3 separate regions of the Homo sapiens genome follow, and all the other regions are linked to region 1. Evidence: promoter capture Hi-C in 16 types of primary human blood cells and fetal thymus (Javierre and others, 2016). All regions are on one chromosome and are shown on one strand. Each heading gives the region's core, a stretch centred on a gene start or on the middle of the fragment in contact. The rest is flanking DNA. Distances are from core to core; before and after follow the strand shown. Region 1 holds the start of PEX26 (peroxisomal biogenesis factor 26). Region 2 overlaps MICAL3 (microtubule associated monooxygenase, calponin and LIM domain containing 3). Region 3 overlaps MICAL3 (microtubule associated monooxygenase, calponin and LIM domain containing 3).

Evidence for each region. The method cuts DNA at HindIII sites, captures the fragments that hold promoters and counts their contacts. A CHiCAGO score of 5 or more calls a contact.
Region 2: a contact is called between a fragment that was not itself captured here and the fragment with the promoter of PEX26 in region 1, in 7 of 17 cell types (total B cells, naive B cells, M1 macrophages and 4 more). The highest score is 12.3, in total B cells.
Region 3: a fragment that was not itself captured here is called in contact with the fragment with the promoter of PEX26 in region 1 in 16 of 17 cell types (total CD8 T cells, naive CD8 T cells, megakaryocytes and 13 more); the score reaches 24.8 in total CD8 T cells.

What each region holds. Positions count from the first base shown.
Region 1 is chr22:18,076,374-18,079,875 of GRCh38, reverse strand. PEX26 (peroxisomal biogenesis factor 26) reads right to left here and starts at 1,886. Exons shown (of 5, transcript NM_001127649.3): 1 at 1,270-1,886; 2 at 1-2. The coding sequence starts at 1,499. It overlaps LOC105372853 (a long non-coding RNA gene), which reads right to left. Exons shown (of 6, transcript XR_001755424.2): 6 at 1,980-2,218. RefSeq lists enhancers at 1,063-1,112, 1,593-1,822, 2,153-2,212 and a silencer at 1,473-1,522. The HindIII fragment of the contact is 13,258 bases long and covers 1-3,007 here.
Region 2 is chr22:17,875,787-17,879,256 of GRCh38, reverse strand. The region is part of intron 16 of MICAL3 (microtubule associated monooxygenase, calponin and LIM domain containing 3); the gene reads left to right. Among named protein-coding and RNA genes, the nearest start is that of LINC00528, 100 kb to the right of the region's middle. The HindIII fragment of the contact is 2,538 bases long and covers 452-2,989 here.
Region 3 is chr22:17,839,984-17,843,423 of GRCh38, reverse strand. It overlaps MICAL3 (microtubule associated monooxygenase, calponin and LIM domain containing 3), which reads left to right. Exons shown (of 32, transcript NM_015241.3): 20 at 1,407-1,602. Among named protein-coding and RNA genes, the nearest start is that of LINC00528, 64 kb to the right of the region's middle. The HindIII fragment of the contact is 7,527 bases long and covers 1-3,440 here.

The sequences.
Region 1 (3,502 bases), core at 637-3,136:
AGCTGTCAGCAGAAAAACCAATTTCAGTTAGAAGTGGTTCCCCTCCATTTCCATTCCCACCTCCACCTTGGGACTGTTCCTCTCCAGCTCCCAACTCAGCAGCCATCATCTCTCTCATCCCTGTTAGTATTTAGATGGGCTTCACAATTGGTCTCATGGGCTGCCCTTTCCCCCAGGAACTAAAAGTTCCTGTAACCCTCTTTCAAGAGGCAAGTCAGCTGTTGCTCAACGTTCATCTTTGTATCCAGGTGAAATCAGATTTAAATGAAGAGGAAGGGTAATCCTGAGGGGGAAATAACACACAGCACCGGTGTGTGGCTGAAAAGAGAGCTGGAACTAAGAGTTTGCTCTGTGAACAAATGGGCTTGGAGCAAGGTTTCTGGCTGAGTGGAGGTATAGACTCCATAGCTGGCTAAAAGGCACCACCTAGTAAGGTTCCTCCAGACACCCAGAAGCAAAGCCTTCTGCATTCACTGAAATGAGCTCCCACCCAGTCCCCTAAAACACAGCCAGGGCTCTCCAGATCATCCTTCTTTGTGGTCAACTTTAGCTATTCTACCTACCACCTCCCTAGCGTGGCCTAACCCAAGTTTACAATGCAAAGAAATGACTCCCTCACCTGCCAGACGAGGCTGGTGGCATTAGAAAGAGCAATGCAAGCCCAAGGTTTTTTTCTCCGGATTCTTTTCTTTTTCTTCTTTTTGGTAGAGAAGAGGGCTCATTATGTTACCCAGGCTGGTCTCGAACTCCTGGGCTCAAGCAATCCTCCTGCCTCGGCCTCCCAAAGTGCTGGGATTACAGGCGTAAGCCCCAGCTCCCGGCCCTGAATTAATTCTTTAATCCAGTCCTCTAATTGGACCAGAACGCTGCTCCTGCCATGACCCCCATTCCCCATCATCAGCCAAGGTCAGGAATAAACAACCTTGGGCGGGGCGGGGAGGGCGGAGGTACCTGGGAGAGGACTTTTACCACCTGCTTACTGACAGAACTTAGCACTTAATACACATTCAGCCTTCCCATCATGTCATTGTACCTTGGAACAAGGAGCAAATAATTGGCTGTGGGATCCCCACTAAGTTTTTGTTACACGACTTCCCTTCTCTGTAGAATGGGCACACGATGAGCGACCACCCTCTCGGAGACAAACCACTGATGAAAGCGAGGTGTAAAGCTCCTTGTGGGCAATCTGGGAAGGACAGAACTCCTGAGACCTTGAGCCCCACCACAAGAGCGCCCGGAAATCGGTTCATTTCCGAGCCCAGCACGTACGTGCCCGCGGGTTCCTCTGCCACGGCGTGGTTGGCCAGACTCTGCCAGGCCCGCTCGCAGGTCTCCAGCGCCGCCCGGAAGTCCAGGTGCACCACCAGGAGGTCGGCCGCCTCCTCCAGAAGGTCCACGGCCGGCGCCCGGGCCGGGACCGCGCGCACCGGCTCGCTGCTGCGCAGGGGTCCCCCGAGCCCCCTGAGGGGGGCTGCAGAGGTCGAAGAATCGCTCTTCATAACGAGTCCGGGTCCAAGGCCCAGGTCCTCAGACGTCGGAGTGACCGCCTCCCCAGAGGCTCCGGGATATCCCGAGTTGGCCTGGGCGAAGAGGGAGAGTCCTCATCTCTTTGCCCACACCCCTTCCCGAGGTCGATTCCCCGAGAAGGAAAAGGAAGGGGCCTATCTGAGGCAAAAGCTGGGCTCGCCTGGAGGCTGGGGAAGCAGTTTACACGTCAGATTTGCAGGATTCTTGCATCCCTGGAATACCTGGCCCTAGCTTCTCCGGCCCCGCGACACGTGCAGGAACTGCCTCAGCTCCGGGCTCCTGGTTACGATCAAAGACTCACCTCGCCTCCCGGCAGCGGGCGCGGACATCTTTGCGCTCGCCCAGCCCCGCAGCCGCGCGGCGTCCCGGCGGCGCGGAGTACTCTAGGAGTTGTAGTTCCTCAGCTCTCGGCCCATCGCCTTCTGTAATGGAAGTAGGAGGCAGAGCGCGGACTACAACCCCCAGCACGCCGCGCCCCGGAAGCCGCCCCTGTGCCGTGAGAAAACAAACTGGTGCTACAGCTTCGGGGTGCGGAAGTCAAAACGAAGCAAAACCGAAGCTGTCTTGTGAAATGGAGGGGTCCTCACTAACCAGTTCCAGCGGAGGCTAACGGAAGAAGTGCCAGCAATGGATGTGCAGCTACATGCACGCTTTTAATTCAGAGCTTCTGCGACGGTGGCGATCAGGGGATCTGTAATGTAATGTAATGTCAAGGCTGACGCAGAGCTGATCAAACATTTTGGCAACCTTAGTCTTGAATTGATTCACACTTTCTCCGCGTTGCCTCCGGAGTTTGCTGTAGGGTAATGAATATTGCCTGGTGAGGATGAGGGACTTAGGGTGGAAACCTTCACAAGGACCACTGAGAATATGTTGGTCCCAAGGGCAATGTTCCAAAATGAATAGTGACCCCACCGAGGCGGGGTTGGGGGCGCTGAGCATAAGGGCCTCATTTTTCTCACTGCTCTCTGCCCCATCCTGAATTTGCTGTTAAAAAACAACGTTAAATGCAGATACCAATTCCACTTCCCCACTGTTGTCACTTCCGATCTGTCTTTATATTTCTCCTTATCATTTATCACCATCTACATACCAATGTCTATATTTTACTTATTTTTATTGTCTATTTCCTTCCACTATGATATAAACTCACAAAGGCAGACGTTTTTGTCTCTTTTGTTCACTGTGGGAACCTCAATGCCTTGAACAGTGCCTGTCATCTATAGGTAGTCAAAAAGTATTTGTGGAATAAATGAAGTCCTGGTTTCACTTTTATCTGGTTACAGGGTCCAGACTTCTCTTTCCTCGGAGTCTGGTGGACTTGGTTCTGCCTCAGCTTCCCATGCAGACTTTTCTGCAAGAGAACGGAAATCCCAGAAGATGGATGTGTGCATGTCTGGTGACAAGGGCAGGGGATGTATGATGTGAGCAGGTGCCTGTTTAATCTAATTTCTAGGAGAGCAAAGATTCTAGGGAAGCTTTGGAGTGAATTCAAAGGGTAGAGAACTGGGGAGAAACTAAAGCCAAGAGGATCTAGTACAAATGTGGGAAGCTTGGCAAAGCCCGGGTGAAACAGAATATAATAATAAGTGTGATTTGTGGATCTGTTTAAAATTATTATTATAGTTACAATTTACCAAATACTCTGTTCCCAGTACTTTACTATAAAGTGCATTATGTACGGTATGGTTTTGTTTTTCACAATGTCCTTATTTTACATTGTGTAACTTGCTCATGGAATGACTGTGTATCCCCTGAATAGCAAACATACTTAGTTCTGTCCCTGCAGAGCAGAGTAGAGCTCAATACACATCTTTGAACCAAAAGAGCCTCGGTTTGACTGAGATTTTGTCGCTTACTAGTTGTGTGACCTCGGCAATTTATTTAAATAAGCTCTGATTTCCTCACCTGTAAAATTGGGATAACAGTTTGTCCTTAGCTCCCAATGGCTGAGGGAAGAATTAAGTAATATTGC
Region 2 (3,470 bases), core at 471-2,970, 200 kb after region 1:
GGACGGCCCCCTCCCCTTGCTTTTTGCACGCTCTTGTCACCCAGCCAAGAGCCAGAATTCTTTTTGCTAGCAGTGTTGACCAATGCAAATAGCATTCACTGTAAAGCAGTCACCCATCTGGCATTCAGATGGGATGCTGATCCTAAATGTGCGTATTGTAAAGGGCCTTAATGACTTCCCATTTCTGCCCACTGTTCCCCTTCCAAGACCATACTATTTCTACCCCCAAACTATGTGCCAGTGGTAGAGTAGTAGCATTGGACTGTCAGATACAACTTCTTAGGGAGAGGGTCTAAATCAGTATTCAAGTGGCATTCAGCAGTCACGGATCTTGAAGTGGAAATCCTAAGAGAGCCAAAGCTCTTACCAGCGTGAGGATTTTTCCAGTGGGATGAGAATGAGGGGGAGAAAGGTAGGTGATGGCAAAATGGGGCTGTACCCGTGGAAAGCTTTAGTCTTTTCTGAAACACTGAGGGGAGAAATTACTGATTGCAGCTGGCCATCGTACAATGTGAGGGATAGCCGAGATGCCCAGTTAAAGAAGCCGGCTTACTTTATGAAACTTTTGTTCTTGTTATTCCTACCCTTAAAGATCTCCAAGTGGGTACAGCTCTGCAGCTAGCGGGAAGAATCATCTCTAGTTGTTAATCTCACAAAAGCCATTTTGGTTTCTAACTCCCTTCTGCCTTTGCTCTCTGAGAAATGCAGTTATGGCCAAGCAGTAAATTAGGTTACCCCTCGGACCCGATAGGAGCTAATCATAGTGCCATCTTCCTGCGCCCTCTCACCAGGCTAGCAGCGGGCAATGTGTGTGCTGCCTGAACCTGGTGCTGGGTCGGAGAGTGGAGACTGGGCTGGAGGTGGGGGTCTTTCCCACCCCCTTTCCATGGCCTCGCCCCACGGTGCTCACCCTTTCTGGGGCTGCTCTCCCACGGCGCTGTGTGCCCAGCCTCTTTCTCTCTTCTTCCCAGGCTGTGTCCCCTCAAAAAGGAAAGCAGCCCTTTTCACTGAGCAGGGCAGTGCCCTCCATTTTGCAGATTGTGTATTTAATGAGATGCTGATAATGTTTAATGAAACAGCGCCTAAAAGAAGAAGGGAGGGGAAGGCCGGGTGCGGTGGCTCAGGCCTGTAATCCCAGCACTTTGGGAGGCCGAGGCAGGCAGATCACGAGGTCAGGAGATCGAGACCATCCTGGCTAACACAGTGAAAACCTGTCTCTACTGAAAATACAAAAAAATTAGCCAGGCATGGTGGCGGGTGCCTGTAGTCTCCGCCACTGGGGAGGCTGAGGCAGGAGAATGGCATCAACCCAGGAGGCAGAGCTTGCAGTGAGCCAAGATCGCGCCACTGCACTCCAGCCTGGGCGACAGAGCCAGGGCGACAGAATCAGACTCGGTCTCAAAAAAAAGAAGAAGGGAGGGGAGCATGTTGAATAGGAGAGATTGGCAGTGAGAAACAATTTGAAGTTTAGGGCTGTGGTGCAGAGAGGGGATGAGTTAGGGTTTTTGAGCTCAGGAGGCAATAAGGCTTGCAGAGATGTTTCTCTCTTTTTCCCTCTGAACTGGTTTCTGCACTCCTCAGTGCAGGGCTCCAGGCTGGATACTTTTGAGGACACTACTTAAGTTCTTTTCTTGGACTCTGCTGCCATCCTCCATAACCTCCCTAACCTCCATAACTTCCCTAACCTCCCTAACCTCCATAACCTCCCTCACCTCCATAACCTCCCTCACCTCCCTAACCTCCCTAACCTCCATAACCTCCCTAACCTCCATAACCTCCCTAACCTCCATAATCTCCCTAACCTCCATAACCTCCCTCACCTCCATAATCTCCCTAACCTCCATAACTTCCCTAACCTCCCTAACCTCCATAACCTCCCTCACCTCCCTAACCTCCATAACCTCCCTAACCTCCCTAACCTCCATAACCTCCCTAACCTCCCTAACCTCCATAACCTCCCTAACCTCCATAACCTCCCTAACCTCCATAACTTCCCTAACCTCCCTAACCTCCCTAACCTCCATAACCTCCCTAACCTCCATAACCTCCATAACCTCCCTAACCTCCATAACTTCCCTAACCTCCCTAACCTCCATAACCTCCCTAACCTCCATAACCTCCCTAACCTCCATAACCTCCCTAACCTCCATAACCTCCCTAACCTCCATAACCTCCATAACTTCCCTAACCTCCATAACCTCCCTAACCTCCATAACCTCCCTAACCTCCATAACCTCCATAACCTCCATAACCTCCCTCACCTCCCTAACCTCCCTAACCTCCATAACCTCCCTAACCTCCATAACCTCCATAACCTCCCTAACCTCCCTAACCTCCATAACCTCCCTAACCTCCCTAACCTCCATAACCTCCCTAACCTCCCTAACCTCCCTAACCTCCATAACCTCCCTAACCTCCCTAACCTCCATAACCTCCCTAACCTCCCTAACCTCCATAACTTCCCTAACCTCCCTAACCTCCATAACTTCCCTAACCTCCTTAACCTCCCTAACCTCCATAAGCTCCCTAACCTCCATAACCTCCCTAACCTCCATAACCCTGCATGTGTACTTGCCCTCTCTGCCCCACCTCTACCCAGTCCTACCCAGTCCCCCACTCCTCCCCTTGGCTCTGACTGCTCTGCCCCCCAGGGGGCTACTGAGTCTCCCTCTTGCTTCCTTCTGAGGGGCGGTGCTTACAGCCATCCTCTCCAGCTCCCTCTGGGGCCTGTGTTGCTGAGCCCAGGGCCAAGGAGCTGGCTGAGTGTCTCAAGCAGAGGGTGTTGAAGTACCAGGTAACTGCCAGTCTATGTCGCCACCCCACGGAGCTATGAAGTGCACGTGGCTGAGGTAGGGAGTGTGACCAATCTGGCTTGGAGCTGGAGGAGCAGAGGGCTTTCTAGCATCATGACTTAATGCTGTCCTTCCCACCTGTAAATAGTTCATTCTGAACCTGGTGGGAAATGAAGCAGTTATTGGTTGCCAAAGCTTTCGGTCACTGCCTCAATCTCTGGGGACTGGGTTCCTAGCTGCATGGGCCCACGGCTAAGGGAGACCCTTGCCCAGTTTTGTTACGTGTGCTATGTGCAGTCTGCAGAGGATTTGGGCTCAAGTCTTTTCTCCTCATCTTTGCTTGGGATTCAGCTGGCTCTTTGGCAAGCAGAGCCTCTCTGAGCACTAAGTGGAAGGAAGAGATGCTGCATTCCTGGCCCTTCTGTAGAAGGAGCGAGCTTCACTCTAGATTTGCTGTCTCCGCTGCCTGCTACTTCTAAGGCCAATGGAGTGATAGGGTGGCGGGAGAATCTTTTTGCCCTGGAGAAATCCCAGCTCAGGCCGGGGGTTGCTTGGCAGAGCACAGAGCATGTGAGTCGACAAGCCATCCCCCTGCCCTTCCTGCAGGCTGCCTTACCCATTCAGAGGGAGGCCGAGGCTGTGCCGGGCGGCCCACAGCTGCGGGACCGCGTTCCAGGG
Region 3 (3,440 bases), core at 84-2,583, 240 kb after region 1:
GCCTCCACCTGGACCCGGTGCTACTCACATTACAGGGGACACACCAGAGGACTCATGACAGCCTCCTCTGACCAGGATCAGGAGGACAAGGGACGTCAACAGAGAATAGTGGTGATGATAAGGGAGGCAGCAGAACTGTTCCATGTTAAAGGAGACCAAAGCACAGTTGTAAAACACATTTTCAAAAATCCGAGTCCATAGCAGTACTTGAAAGTATAAAGTTAAAAATGGGAAAAGTGCTTCTTTACCAAAGAATGGTAGTGGAGGAGGAGTGATGGGATTTTTTTTTTTTTTTTTTTTTTTGAGATGAAGTCTCGCTTTGTCACCCAGGCTGGAGTGCAGTGGCGCAATCTCGGTTCACTGCAAGCTCCGCCTCCCAGGTTCACACCATTCTCCTGCTTCAGCCTCCCGAGTAGCTGGGACTACAGGCGCCCGCCACCGTGCCTGGTTAATTTTTTGTATTTTTAGTAGAGATGGGGTCTCACTGTGTTAGCCAGGATGGCCTTGATCTGCTGACCTCGTGATCCACCTGCATCGGCCTCCCCAAGTGCTGGGATTACAGGCGTGAGCCACCGCACCCAGCCAGAGTGATGGGATTTTAAAATCACCTGGTGTGACGCCCTGTGCACACAAAGGACTCCGGCCAAGATCGCCGACGATGCTGAAACCACAGGGTGAAAGGACGCAGGCAGGGCACCCCGTGGCTTCAGAAGCCCACGGAGGACTGATGGGGAAGTGTGCCTGTGCATCGCAGAGAGGCCTGGGTGCCACCTCTGTGAGCGGTCGGGCCTGGTGTCCTTCCTCTGAGCAGCGGTGCTGCGGTAGGGGCAGCATCGCCCACGTGGCCTTATGAAACCGAAAGTGCCTTATCTAACTGTGAGGAGACAGATCCGCAGCATGAGACGTTCTTCAGGCAGCTGGCCAGGCCCCCTCAGTGGTGGGGCACGTGCCTGGTGGGGACTTGGATCCCGGGGCAGGCATTGGGGGAGGCACCTGGTGGGGGCCTGGATCCCTGGGGCAGACTGCACCGGGGATGCCCTTCTCAGGCAAGGCTGCTTCAGGGGCACCTGGCTCCTGGCTGCCTGCGGTCTGGCCCACACCCCTCACCACCAGTCACTCTTGTGGGGAGACTGCGTCTCCCCTCTGGGGGCCGGGTTCAGGGTGATGAAGGAGAGAGAACGCTCTGACCTGGAGGGCAGACAGGGCCACCTTCCTTTCTCCTGCAGAGTGAAATTCCCTCTCACATGCCAGGGTCCTTCTCTGGCCTCTGGCAACTCTGCAAATGCTCTGACCTTTGTCCTGCCCCACATTCTGGCAGGAGGGCCTGCAGCCTGGGTGTCAGCCCCCACCCCCACGCCCCGTCTGTGGTTGGACCTCAGTGCAGTGCTTCTGTGCTTGTCCCGCAGGTTCAGGCGTGAACGGCCTGGAGGAGCCCAGCATCGCCAAGCGACTGAGGGGCACCCCAGAGCGGATCGAGCTGGAGAACTACCGCCTGTCCCTGAGGCAGGCTGAGGCACTGCAGGAGGTACCGGAGGAGACTCAGGCCGAGCACAACCTGAGCAGCGTGCTGGACACGGGCGCCGAGGAGGACGTCGCCAGCAGGTCAGCACGCAGGGCTGCAGGGCGCCCACCCGCCACACGGCCCTAAGAGCCTCCTCACCTCTGTGTGTCTCGGTTTCTTCTCAGTGAAGGGAGGCCTCCTGTCTTTCCTGCTGCCCGCAGTCCATTCTCCCCAGTCCCTTTTAGGTTCTTAGCCTCATCTTCTAGTCAGTGAGGACTCCTCCATCAGACTCAATTCAGAGATTCAGGAAGTATTTATTCCTTGAGGACCTGACATGTCCCCAGCTCCAAGTCTGTCATTGGGAAGGAAAGTGGCAGGCTCTGCCCCCGGGTTATTCACAGATTCAGCAGAGGGAAGGACGGGCACACGGGGAGGGACTCTGGGTGATTCAGCCACCAGTGCACCGGGCCGTCTTGAGGGAGGCCTAGTCCGTCCCCCAGGCATCTTTTTTTCTCCTGTAGGTAAAGAAAGGGACTGAAAATGTGTGCCCCAGGGGCCGCATGCAGCACCAGTGGATGCATGCTTAGGCAGTTCCAGAGCTGTAATCACATCCAGCTGGGTGACACCTTTGGGGATGTGCATGCTATAACCCTAGGACTCCCTATATCCACTGCCCTGCACCCCAGGGCTTCCAGTATCAGCGAAGGCTTCAAAGTGTTCAGCCGATTACAGATGATCAAGAGAGCCAAGAATCAAAAGGGGGTCCGGTGTCCTGTGGGGCTTCAGGACAGAAACACAGGCTGCAAACCCGAGGGGCAGAGGCCTCAAGTGGCCTTGGAGAGCATTTGAATCACACACCTTGATTTAGCCATGATGAAGGGAACATGTGGGGATAAGGAGAGCAGAGCAGTTTTTTTAAGGTCCAAGAACGCTTTCCAGAAGGTGTTTGCTGGGCCGAGCTGCTTTCAGCTGCACCCGCCACCTCAGCCCTCATGTCAGACACCCTCTGCCTAGATTCATTCTTGGGCTGCCTCACAGACCGCTCCTCCGTGCATGCCGGGGGCAGCCTCTGCCTTGGTGTCTGCAGTTCCAAAGCTGTCACTGATGGTGCATCCTCATCCAGAACTCTGCTTCCCTATCCAGAGCACCCATGGAGGCCCCACTCTCCCCACTGTGCCCAGATGAGGGGGAGCCCACTCTCTCTCTCCACTGACCCTGCAGTGAGGGTGAGAGATGCTGTGTGTCAAAACACATTTATAAACCCTTGAGCAGAGCTACTGGCTTGACCTTGGGCTGAGTGTGGGTCAGCACCATTTTCTCCACTGTAATTTATAAATTGTGAGAGGCAGTGGGGCAGCAAGTTCATGTAATGTAGCAAGGACATTCCAGGAAGGCTAACCCCTGGCATTTATGGCAGGTATGACAGGAGGGCAGCACAGAAAACATGAAATCAGTCAGCATCTATGCAATGCAATACATGCCTCATCTTACTCAGATTGAAGTTAAAAAAAGATTTTAAAACTAGCATTCATGCTGGGCGCAGTGGCTCATGCCTGTAATCCCAGCACTTTGGGAGGCCAAGGTGGGCACATCACTTAAGGTCAGGAGTTCAAGACCAGCCTGGCCAACATAATGAAACCCTGTCTCTACTAAAAATACAAAAATTAGCTGGGCATGGTGGTGCACACCTGTAATCCCAGCTACTTGGGAGGGTAAGGCATGAGAATTGCTTGAACCTGGGAGGCGGAGGTTGCAGCGAGCCGAGATCATGCCACTGCACCACTGCACTCCAGCCTGTGTGACAGAATGAGACTCCATCTCAAAAAAAATTAAAATTAAAATCAAAAAATAAAATAAAGGCCAGGCACGGTGGCTCACACAGGAGAATCACTTGAACCTGGGAGGCGGAGGTTGCAGTGATCTGAGATCACACCAGTAC